2 separate regions of the Homo sapiens genome follow, and region 2 is linked to region 1. Evidence: promoter capture Hi-C in 16 types of primary human blood cells and fetal thymus (Javierre and others, 2016). All regions are on one chromosome and are shown on one strand. Each heading gives the region's core, a stretch centred on a gene start or on the middle of the fragment in contact. The rest is flanking DNA. Distances are from core to core; before and after follow the strand shown. Region 1 holds the start of RNF145 (ring finger protein 145). Region 2 overlaps CYFIP2 (cytoplasmic FMR1 interacting protein 2).

Region 1 (6,104 bases), core at 888-3,387:
TTCAGTACAATACTTCTACACCTTCCCCCTAAAAAAGAAAAACAAAAATCATCATTCACCATTATCTCCTTTCTTTCTCCCAACCAGTTAAAAAAAAAAATTCTACCATCAACTAAAACTGATCTTAAGAAAAGTAAATTTTCGGGCTGTCCATCGGTTAGGATGGTAGGCCTCACTGAAAATGTTAAGAGCACAAAGCTAGAGCCTAAAATTCTAAGTAAAAGCCCAGAACTGAGATACCAGGAAAGAGAACGCATTTCTTACATAAGCAATGGCACATGTTTTAAATATAGCTGGTCCTCCCCACTCCCACTCCTTGCTAGCTAACTTTGTATGTACCTGATCTCCACATAAACTACTAGCAATTCTGTGGTTTCTCATCATCTCCCAAACCGCAAAGACAGGGAGTCTACTCTGAATACAAAGGCCATCTTTCAACTTAAGGAACAGAGAGAGGAAATAAAACTGCTACCTCTGCCATCGGCCGCTCAGCCTGGGTCACGACTGCAGCACCGACAGCTCATTCTTTTGGGCATGATTCAAGATTCAGTAAAACTGCACACTCCGTATTTTAAAAAATAAAAAGACACACAGTCCTCTCCTTCCCTTTCAGACTAGTTTCCTCTTTACTGCAGACTGCGACGCAAGGCCATCCACTAATCTTTGATGCCTGCTCACTGCACAGGCCCCTTCCTCTCTCCCCGCACCTCCTCCCACAACGCCTGCAGATCTCAGATGCGTTTGAACTACAGTAACCCCAACCCAGCTCGCGGCAAGCAGGCAGCGCAGCAGCAGTAGCAGCAGCAACCGGGCCGCCGCCGCCGCGGGGCTAAGAGATTACGTTCAGCAAAAACTCTTCCAGGAAAGAGGCTCGAGAGCTCCCCTCCTATCTCGCCAAGGGTGCTGACTCTGTCGCGCCACGCCACGTACCAAAAGGCTCGCGAAGAAAAACGCGGGCGAAGTTCAGCATCCCCGAACAGAAAGGGAACTCATTCCAGAAAGGGGGTTCACGGGTCTGAGGGTCCTTGGGTGGGGAAAGCAGTATTGGAGGGAGAAGACAGAAGGGATGGCAAGACAGAGGAAACCACGGGGACAAAAAGGAAGGGATGAGGAGCCCTCTTACTATAAAAGGGACTGACGGACGGGATGCAGAGCAATGGGCCCCCCTCGAAAAATGGACTGGCAGGCCCTTCCGCACCCCCAAACAACCTCGCACCACCTGAAAGCGGGGAGCTTGAGTTTGGGGCTGCGTAGATCAAAGCAGGGTAAGACGAAGGGAAAGAGGGAGGGGAGCTTGGAAGCAAAGTGAACAAAGAGGCAAAAGAGGCAAAGTTGGAAATGGAAACGAGAAAGGGAGCTGGAAAGGGGCCGCTCTGGAAGGGTCTTGAAAAAGGCCTAGAAATGGGATGCTGGGGAGGCAAAGGGGGACAGCCCCGAGGAAGGGCATCTCAGGAATGTAAGGGAGCGCTCCAGGCCCTGGGAAGAGGAAGGGATGGGAGGGCGGGGAGGCAGCCGAGGCCCGGGAGCTGGAACAGAGGGGGCTTTGCGCGGGGCCCAGGAGGGGAGAGCAGGGTCGGAGGGAGGCGACCACCGCGGGAAGAGCTAGAGGATGGGAGGGAGGGGTGCTGCGGCTGAAGAGGGGATGTGGACTCCTCCAATGCTAGGGAGAAGAGGGAGGTGAAGCGAGATAAAAGGAAAGGGGCGAACAGGGAGAAGAGGAAGGAGCCTGCGACGCGATGGGGGAGGGGAGGGAGGCCGTGGGAAGCGGCCGGGGGGCGCGGGGATGGGAAGGGGCCGGGCGGGCGGCGTGGTCACCTCAGGCTGCGGACTCCCTCCCTGGGGAGCGGCGCTGCCGGCGGGCGGGCTCCGCAACTCCCCGGCTCTCTCGCCCGCCCTCCCGTTCTCCTCGGGCGGCGGCGGGGGCCGGTACGGCACGGCTCACAGCGGCGGCTCTTCTGCGCCGAGCCTCGGATGTTGCTTCTGGGGAGGCGGAGGCAGCGGCAGCGGCAGCGGCCCGGCCCGTACGGTCACCATCGTCCGCGGCAGCAGGCGCTCGCGGGCCGAGCCCCTTAGCAGCCGGCGCCGGCGTCGGCGGCCATGGCCTCCTGCGTTTGCTCCTCCCGCCCCCGGCGCTCTGCGGCGGCCGCGGCCCGACTTCCGCACTCTGCGCCTGCGCGCGGCCCAGCCAGCGCGGCGCGCCCCTCCCGCGCGCGCCCGCGCTCACTCACAATCGCGCCCGCGGAGTGCTTTCCGCACCGCCTCCGGTGCGTGGGCGGGAGACATAAGCCTAGCCAAGCCCATACAGCCCGGCTCGGGTGGCTATGGAGAGGCGTACTGCAGAGACACCTGGACGCGCACTGTGACAGGCGCCATTCTGACACACGTGCTCTCTCACTCCCAAACACCACGGGCCGCAAGCGCTCACACCCACACTCACCTGCAGGGACCACGTGGGAGAATTTGAAGGGCTGATCCTGTCCCGGTGCATTCGCAGTAGCAATGATGCGAGAATTCGTTTTAACCTCGTCACTGACTGGACTAGACTGTAAACTCCTTGGCGTCTGGGATGGCTCAGCCGTGCCCAGCACCAAGTGCAGGCACTCAAACCCCTGTGGAGTAAGTGACTGGATGAATGAATGCATTGGAACTGTTCACTGAGTATCTGTAACAATTTTGATCCCATGGTTTGGTACAAAGAATTTTATTGCAGTATGAAATTAAATGGTGTTTGTGTGTTTGTCTTGTCTTGGTCTAAGGTTCAAAACAGGCTAATGTATGTTTTCCCCTCCCCAACGTAGAGGAGTTCCACTTTGTCTCTGTGCCAGTCTCTATCACAGAATGCGCAATCCTACCCTAATTTAAATGTCCACACCTTTTAGGGCAGGAACTGTTGCCCAGAATACATAGCCTGAAGCATATTGTGTGTTTACACAACGATAGTCTTCTGGGCTTGGCAAGACTTCTCATTCCCCATTTGTCTGCCACTCTGCCTCACCACGACCTTCTGCAACCCCCACTTCTATCTCCCCTGCCTTCCACCATCACCAAAACCCCTCCACTGTTTCTTGCTTTCTCTTTCGTTAGTTCCTGGGGAGCCAGTTGCTATGAGCACCTAGCCTGGCCTTAGATGTTGAAAGGGCCAGTGTACACAGAAGATACACACCCAGTGATGGGTAAGATGTTGCAACTATACTGGGTCATGCTGAAATTGTGAAGCCTCAACTTCTTCATGTGCAAGAGAAATTAATGTACTGTAATCTCGATGTCTGTGTTGAGGACCCTCCTTGTAAATTCAAGTCTCTGGCCTCTGCCCTTTGAATGGTAAACCCCCAATTCTGAACACTCTTGTATCCTGCTGAAATTGTGAAAGCAAGCTCTGTATTTAGAAAATGCAATCCCTGGAGGTATCAGTCAACCAAACTCTGAGTAACTTGCCTTCCATTAGTTTGATAGCTCTGTAGGAATCAAGTGTTTAAAATGTGTGGGAATTGTGTACATAACTCACTATAACCACCTTTCATCCAGGTGCCTCAGACTACTTCACCATAGTCATAAATCCTGTCACATCCCAGTGATGCAGTTCATGAGTCTCTTAATCTAGCCTGGTAAGTAAAAAAATTACAGAGGTCACATGAATAATGACTGGAATAGGAAATGGACCAAGATAGCAAGGCCTTATCTTGATCCCCTCCCTGTTTTAACAACTTTACATCTGACTGAGTCAAGAAAACCTAAGGCCAGAAACAGATTACAAAGAAGTCAAAATGAACGTAACACTAAATTCTAACTTTATTTATTTATTATTCTTGGATAAATGGCAGAATCCTGAAAATGTGATTCTAAAAGGAAGTATGGTTGCTGGATTTGCGTGGTTTTTGTTTGTTTGTTTGTTTGTTTTTTGAGACGGAGTCCACTCTTGTTGCCCAGGCTGGAGTGCAGTGGCGTGATCTTGGCTCATCGCAACCTCCGCCTCCTGGGTTCGAGCAATTCTCCTGCCTCAGCCTCCCAAGTAGCTGGGATTACAGGCATGCACCACCACACCTGGCTAATTTTGTATTTTTAGTAGAGATGGGGTTTCTTCATGTTGGTCAGGCTGGTCTCTAACTGGATTTGTGTTTTAAATGGAGGAGAGGCCTACTTCAGCTCTTACCTTTCCTTTTTTTAAAGTGGAGAAAATGGCTTCAAAGCCCTGTAACCCTCACTGGAAGTATTCTGGACTTGTAAAAGCAGGAAAAAGTCACATGTCTTTTTACCTTTTAACTTAATAGCAGCTGCCTGTAAATGCTGAAGTTCAAAACAAGTAAAGAAAATTACTCTGGTAATGAAAGGGTTACTGCTATTATAGTGCTGCTAATCCAGTTATGGGAAAGCTCCACATTGCCAGAAGCAGGTAATTAAACAGAACTAAAAAGCAACGCAAAAGAAAAAAGAAGTGGGGGTGGGGCGGGTGAATCGAGAGCAGCTCAAATAAAAGAGCTCAATCAAGTGTAGAGGAAGTACTTTCTAGAGGCACCCAAACCCACCCAAATCAGGAAAAGCCAGGAGCTAAATTTGTCCTTAAGTACCTGGAAGAAACATAAGGAAATGTCTAAATGCCACAGCTTGGTCATAAAAGGAACTTACCCAGGGTGCTAGAAGGAAAGAAGTGGTATGTTTATGACTGCCCAATGGCAGACCATTCAGGATTCGAAAGGTTATCTTCCTTCCTGTCTAAATGCATCCAACATTGAGGAGGAAGTCAGCACAAAGTTTGAAAGAGTGCATATATGTTCCAGTTCTAGCCATTCCAAAAGACTCGTTCCTGAATTCCTGATAGAGCCAACTATTGCTAATAGTCACATAGAAATAGTCTTGTGTTGCAAATCCGCAGGAACTGATGGCCACTTTATTATGCACTGCCTTCTAAATCTAGAGAAAATGATATAACGGATTTCACATGTTGGGGCCAAAATCCAAAGAACCTTGGATAGCCAGCATTGGGAATATGAGGGAGAATTTTCATGTCTTCATTTCTTCACACACTTTCTTGTTCCTAATGTTTTCTGGGCACTTTGAGGTTTTCTTTATCCAATTCAAACAACCAGATATTCAAAGATATCCAATTCAATAATCAACTCCCTAATTAGAAGAGTCTAGATAATATATAGAATCCATTCAACCTGGCTACCCTCATGGTTTGATTTTGAGAGCCAACTCTATAAGGAAAACTATAGTTTTGTTAGGCAACATTATTCGGTAAAGGGCGGTTCACTCTTTTTTTCATATATATATATATATATATATATATATATATACAGCTTAATTGACATATAATCCACCTGTTTTAAAGTGTACAACTCAGTGGTTTTTAGTATATCCTCAGAGTTGTGTAACCATCACCACAATCAATTTCAGAACATTTCATCATAACCTCCCGCCGGGGAAAAAAAAACCCATATCCATTAGCAGTTGCTTACCTTCTCGTCCCAGCCCTCAGCAATCATTAATTGTTCTGCAGTCACTAATCTTTCTGTCAGATTTGCATGTTCTGGACTTGTCATATAAAGAGAATCATACAATATGTAGCATTTTGTGTCTGGCTTACTTTACTTAACATTTTTGAGGTCCATGCATGTGTAGCATGTATTGGTACTTAATTTTCTTTTCTTGCCAGATAAAATTCCATTGTGTAGATAGATATACCGTGTTTTGCTTATTCATTCATCAGTTGATGGACACTTGAGTTATTTCCACTTTTTGGCATTTATGAATAGTGCTGTTATGAACATTCATGTACAAGTTGTTGTGTGGACACATTTTCATTTGTCTTGGTAGAATTACTGGGTCATATAGTAACTCTATGGTTTCACTTTTTGAGGAACTGCCAGATAGTCTTCCAAAGTGGCTGCATCATTTTACATTCCCACCAGCAGTATATGAGAGATTTACTCTTCTATTCAGATGCTTCCTATCTGCTAGCTATGGGACCCTGTGCCAAGTGTACGTAACTTAAGAACACCTCCATTTATTGTCTGTAAAATAGGGATAGTGATAATATCTACTTTGCGGGGTTGTTGTGAAAAATAAATGAAGTGATGTGTGCTAATATTCTTGGTACAAAGTCC
Region 2 (5,398 bases), core at 1,965-4,464, 1.9 Mb before region 1:
ATTAGGGATGAGGTTTCACCATGTTGGCCAGGCTGGTCTCGAACTCCTGACCTCAGGAGATCCGCCCATCTTGGCCTCCCAAAGTGTTGGGGTTACAGGCATGAGCCACTGAGTCTGGCCTTATCTGTGTAGCCACCAAGTCCGGTCTTATCTGTGTAGCCACCGAGTCTGGCCTTATCTGTGTTATTAATAGTGAAGGAGAAGGAATGGAAAAACTAGAAGTAAGGACATGGCCAACTTCAGGTCGTCTCCTCTCTCCTATGTTGTCAGGAGATTGAGGTGTGTTCATGAATTCTTTCATTCAGTACTTCCCCAGTGCCTAATCTGTTTGCAGCACTCTGCTAAGGTCTCTGCATTTTCAGTGATAGGTAAGAAAATGGTCCCTGACCTTGAGGAGCTTTCACATGCATGGTTCTACTCCAGAGAGGGCATGTTATGTTTTATTTCATGGGCAAACTCAGATTGATTGCTGGTGGCTTCCTGGAGCTCAGTATTTCATGAGGATTCTGAAGCTGTCTGTGGACTTAGTGGAAAATAGAGTCATTACCAATTAGCAATGTCTGTCCTGGCATGGGAGGAAGAAGTAGCAGTATTTGGGTTTTATTCTGGGGCCAAGAAAACATCATAGAGTGCATTTACACAAACCTGGATGGCATAGCCTACTACACACCTAGGCTATATGGTATATAGCCTATTGCTCCTGGGCTGCAAACCTGTACGGCATGTTCTTGTACTGAATACTGTAGGCAATTGCAACACAGTGGGAAGTATTTGTGTATCTAAACATAGAAAAGGTACAGTAAAAATATGATATTATAATCTTATGGGAACACCATCATATATATGATCCACTGTTGACTGAAGCATCATTATGAGGCAAATGACTGTAAATTTTTTTAATAGGAACAACCTAAATCTCCCTTTTATTTATTTTTATATTTATATATCTATATAATATTTTCTTTGTAGTAATATATGTATACATATGTGTATATATATGTATATGTGTGTGCAGTATGTTTGTGTGTGTGTACGTATACTTATATAGCCTCTGGCTGGAGCGCCATACGGACATGGAAAATATTTCCTGGCCTCTTGATGTTCATGAAACACAAAGGTGACAATTACCTAATCTTTCTAGCTTGCCAGAGTTGTGTTCTTCTTGAGGAAGGAAAAAGCAGCCAAACTGGGAAAAAAATATGTTTGGCACCTTTCAAAAAGGTACAAAACCAGGTGTGGTCTAGAAGAAAAGGCATAGAATTGGGAGTCAAGGTATCCTGTTTCTACCCTACCTCTGCCACTAGCTGACCATGTGACCTTGAATAAAAGTGTTTACTTCTCCATAACACAGTGTCCTCAGAAACACAGCAAAAATTATACCTGCTGAATTGAATTTGCAGGATAGTTGTGATTGAGAAAATCAATGTGAAAGATCTATAGAACTGAGATATTAGTGTAATAATAATAAACCTTCCTTTTTTTGGTAGGAGAATTGTTGGAGTATTTAATTCATCCTCTCTATTGAAAACAGGCCACAGACTAGCGAATGTTAAACGAAAGTATGGGAGGCCATTGTTTAAGACTAAGCTCCTGTACTAGGCCCCTAAAAACCAGACCAAATCAAAATGGAGTCACTCATGCTAAATGCCACTCTCTACCTGAGTCAGCATAATAAGCAAATCCTCTCTGCCTTAATCCTTACAAAAAAGTAACCTGAAGTAACTTGATGTTAACTAATCATTTATTTTTCTATTGTTGTGTTTTCTTATTCCCACCTTACAAAACCCACAGTTTTGCTATTGCCCAGTGGGAGCTTTCATTCTATTGTATAGAAAGGAGGTGCTTCAATTCATAAATCACAAATTAAGGACAATTAATTCTATAAATTTATTGTAATTTTGTCTTTTGACATGTCTTTGCTGGCTACTGTGTTAAGTATTCTACATGCTGTAGTTATATAATCAAAATAAACATTGAGGACAGGCACTATTGTAAATTGTCACCCTTACAAGGTAAGGAAACTGAGGCTCGGAGAGGTTAAGGAACATGCTATTGTTTATATAGCTCATAAGTGGCAGATGACAGATTGAAACCCAGAACTCAAGCTTACCCACTACACTAGCCTAATATTTCACTTCAGTAAAAAGTCTTAATATTTCATTTCTTTCCAGAAAAATCAAACAGATAATGACAATGCAAGTATTTTGCTTACAGAGAAACAGGGTTTAAGCTGTAAATGTCAGAACCTGCATTTCCAAAGCCATGTTCTCCTGGCAGTCGCCCTGCATTTATGGGACCCACCCCCCTCTTGCTTGGGGTCTGTCAGTCATGTCTGCCTGGGGGGGCACCTAAAGCCCCCCCTTCTCAGAAGCAAATTGCTTGTGTGCCCAATGTTATTATTACTTTTGGTGAAACCAGGCCACCGACTGAGTTTGTTATGAAGACACTGCATTTAAACCCATCATGAATGCCCGCCACTGAGAATTTGCAGCTGTGTTTGGTAAATGATGCTCCCAGAACACTGTTAACTTTTAAATATTTTATTAATTTCTTTTTCAAAATGATGAAATGGTCACATGTTCGTAGACCGAATATAAAGAATCATTCTCACTTGGAAGATTGCGTAACAGGCAGGACACTTGGGCAGGAAAGAAGTACGTTCTTATTTTCATTTATACCTCTGTTCAAATTTCCAGAATATTTTTCCTTTCTGATTGATGTGGATTTGGCAGTGCCTACCAGCACTTGAGCTAAAAATGTCGGATTTCCTTCTCCCTTAGGCACTGAATGATCTACCAATGCTCATAGAAATCCACTACAGAAGTTGTATTTGCCAGGGGAGAAGAAAGATAGCATTAACATAAACAGACTCCTAATTTATTTGCTTTGTAGGTTGTTCACTTACTTATTGATTCTCTTCAAGGGATGTTCAGGGGTACTATTATGCTACAGAGGAGAACTTAATGGTTATTCTGGTAAATGAGTATTTTTGTGTGTGTGTGTGTGATGAAGTTTTGCCCTTGTTGCCCAGGCTGGAGTGCAATGGCATGATCTTGGCTCACTGCAACCTCTGCCTCCTGGGTTCAAGTGATTTTCCTGCCTCAGTCTCCTGAGTAGCTGGGATTACAGGCACCCACCACCACGCCTGGCTAATTTTTTTTTTTTTTTTGTATTTTTAGTAGAAATGGGATTTCTACTAAAGAAAAATTGACCAGGCTGGTCAGGCTGGTCTCGAACTCCTGACCTCAGGTGATCCACCCGTCTCAGCCTCCCAAAGTGCTGGGATTACAGGCGTGAGCCACCACACCCGTCTGTAAATGAGTATTTTTTAAGTTTGAGTAGCCCAGAAGAAACCTAGTTACAGGAGAAAAAAAGGGAAGTTGGATAAGAGCTGGGAGCTTATAAACTGATCTAGGGGATTTTATGAAAAATTTGAAACATATATAAAATTGGATGGAAAAATACAGTAATTTCTATGTATGTGTCACACACAATCTATAGTTACTAACTCACTGCGAATTTGTTTCATTTCTATTCACTCTTCCCCCATCTAGTATTATTTAGAAGCAAAACCCTGTGTCCTTTTATCTATATTTTAGTAGATCTTTCTGGAAGATATAGGTTCTTTTAAAACATAACCTTGATATTATCAAACCTAAATACAATATTTCCTTCATATTATCAAATATCCAGTCAGTACTAATTTTCTAATTTTCTCATAAAGTTATAATTTTATTTGTATGGTGGTTTGTTTGAAATAGGATCCAAATAAGGTCCACACATGATAGTGTGTTCAGTCTCTTCAAAATCTATAGACTTTCCTCCCATCTCTCTTTTCTATCTTTGCAATTTATTTGTTAGAGGTCCTGAGTCATTTGTCCAGCAGAATTTGTCATAGATTGCATTTTGCTGATTACATCACTGGGGTGTAGCATGTTTTTCTGCCCTCTTATATTTCCTGTGAGTTGGCGTCAAAGGCTTAATTAGATTCAGGTGTTTTGTTTTGGATCCAGCATTCTTGGTGCGTTTTTCCATCATTAAGCACATAATATCTGATTGTCTTTCATTTAGGGATGTTAACAGCTGATGATGATCCGTGCCTAGATCCATTTGTTTGTAGAGGTTGGAAAACAAGGATATTATCATTTTTCTGTTAAAAAGGAAAAAAATACTTTTATGGAAAGAAACATCCATCTCTTCTATAGTTCGGTTATCTAGTGGTATAGTTTAAGAAAGACAGGTTAAATGTTTGCTTTTATTTACCAATTCTCAACATAAAGGTTGGTTCACAGGCTCATCTAACAGTAACAAAGTAATAAAAACCAAGCTTTTATTAGATGTCTTTGTGATCCATCAGGGCTCTTCCAGCACATCACTCGATTTTAAAATCACTTGGAATAATAGTCCCTTTCTGTGGAGTTACTCCAATAGTACAACATATATATACATTCATTTGTTTCATTTTACTTTTCGATTTGGGGGCCACTTTTTATAAATTTAAATTTTATTTTATAAGTATGTAAAATGTTTTGACGTTTTCAAAGTCAAATCTACAAAATAAGGCATATTCAAAGGATTCTAGCCCCTATCTCTTAACTGTTTTCCCTTCTTTTCCTGTTTTCCATAGGTAACTAATTTTTAAAAGCATATGGCTTGCCTTTCCATTGTTTGTTTTTTAAGTAGAAGATGTGTGTGTAGACATCTGCAGCCCCCTCTCCTGGGTAAATGAGTGCATGCTCTCCATACCATGTCCTGGAGATCACCCGTAGTTGCATGTAGAGAGGGTCCTCACTCCATTTTCCTGCTGCTTCATATTTCCCTGTACAGTGGCACCATAGTTTATCCAGACAGTCCTCTGTTAATGGATGTATTAGGCCATTCTTGCACTGCTATAAAGAAATATCTGAGACTGGGTAATTTATAAAGAAAAGAGGTTTAATTGACCTCAAGGTTCCACAGGCTGTACAGGAAGCATGGTGCCAGCATCTGCTCAGCTTCTGGGGAGGCCACAGAAAGCTTTCAATCATGGCAGAAGGCAGAGGGGTAACAGTTATACCATATGGTGGAAGCAGGAGCAAGAGAGTGGGCAGTGTGGGGGAGGGAGGTGCCACACACTTTTAAAATGACCAGATCTCCTGTGAACTCAGAACTCACTCATCACCAAGGGGATGGCCCAAGCCATTCATGAGGGACCTGCCCACATGATCCAAACACCTCCCACCAGGCCCCACCTCCAACACTGGGGATTAGAATTCAACATGAGATTTGGGTGAGGGCAAGTATCCTAACTATGTCAATGGATGTTTGCTGTTTTCAGTTTTTGCTATCACAAGTAGTCCTGCTGTGAATGGCCTTGTGCATATATCTTTGTGTATTTTTGTCAATGCATCTTTGGGAC

Evidence for each region. The method cuts DNA at HindIII sites, captures the fragments that hold promoters and counts their contacts. A CHiCAGO score of 5 or more calls a contact.
Region 2: a contact is called between a fragment that was not itself captured here and the fragment with the promoter of RNF145 in region 1, in 1 of 17 cell types (activated CD4 T cells). The highest score is 5.8, in activated CD4 T cells.

The regions. Positions count from the first base shown.
Region 1 is chr5:159,207,416-159,213,519 of GRCh38, forward strand. RNF145 (ring finger protein 145) reads right to left here and starts at 2,138. Exons shown (of 11, transcript NM_001199383.2): 1 at 1,816-2,138. It overlaps LOC107986468 (a long non-coding RNA gene), which reads left to right and starts at 612. Exons shown (of 2, transcript XR_001742943.2): 1 at 612-1,265; 2 at 2,444-2,737. RefSeq lists enhancers at 249-904, 504-553, 644-693, 804-923, 2,511-2,610 and silencers at 1,821-2,010, 2,051-2,340. The HindIII fragment of the contact is 10,196 bases long and covers 1-6,104 here.
Region 2 is chr5:157,277,211-157,282,608 of GRCh38, forward strand. The region is part of intron 1 of CYFIP2 (cytoplasmic FMR1 interacting protein 2); the gene reads left to right. Among named protein-coding and RNA genes, the nearest start is that of CYFIP2, 14 kb to the left of the region's middle. The HindIII fragment of the contact is 2,222 bases long and covers 2,104-4,325 here.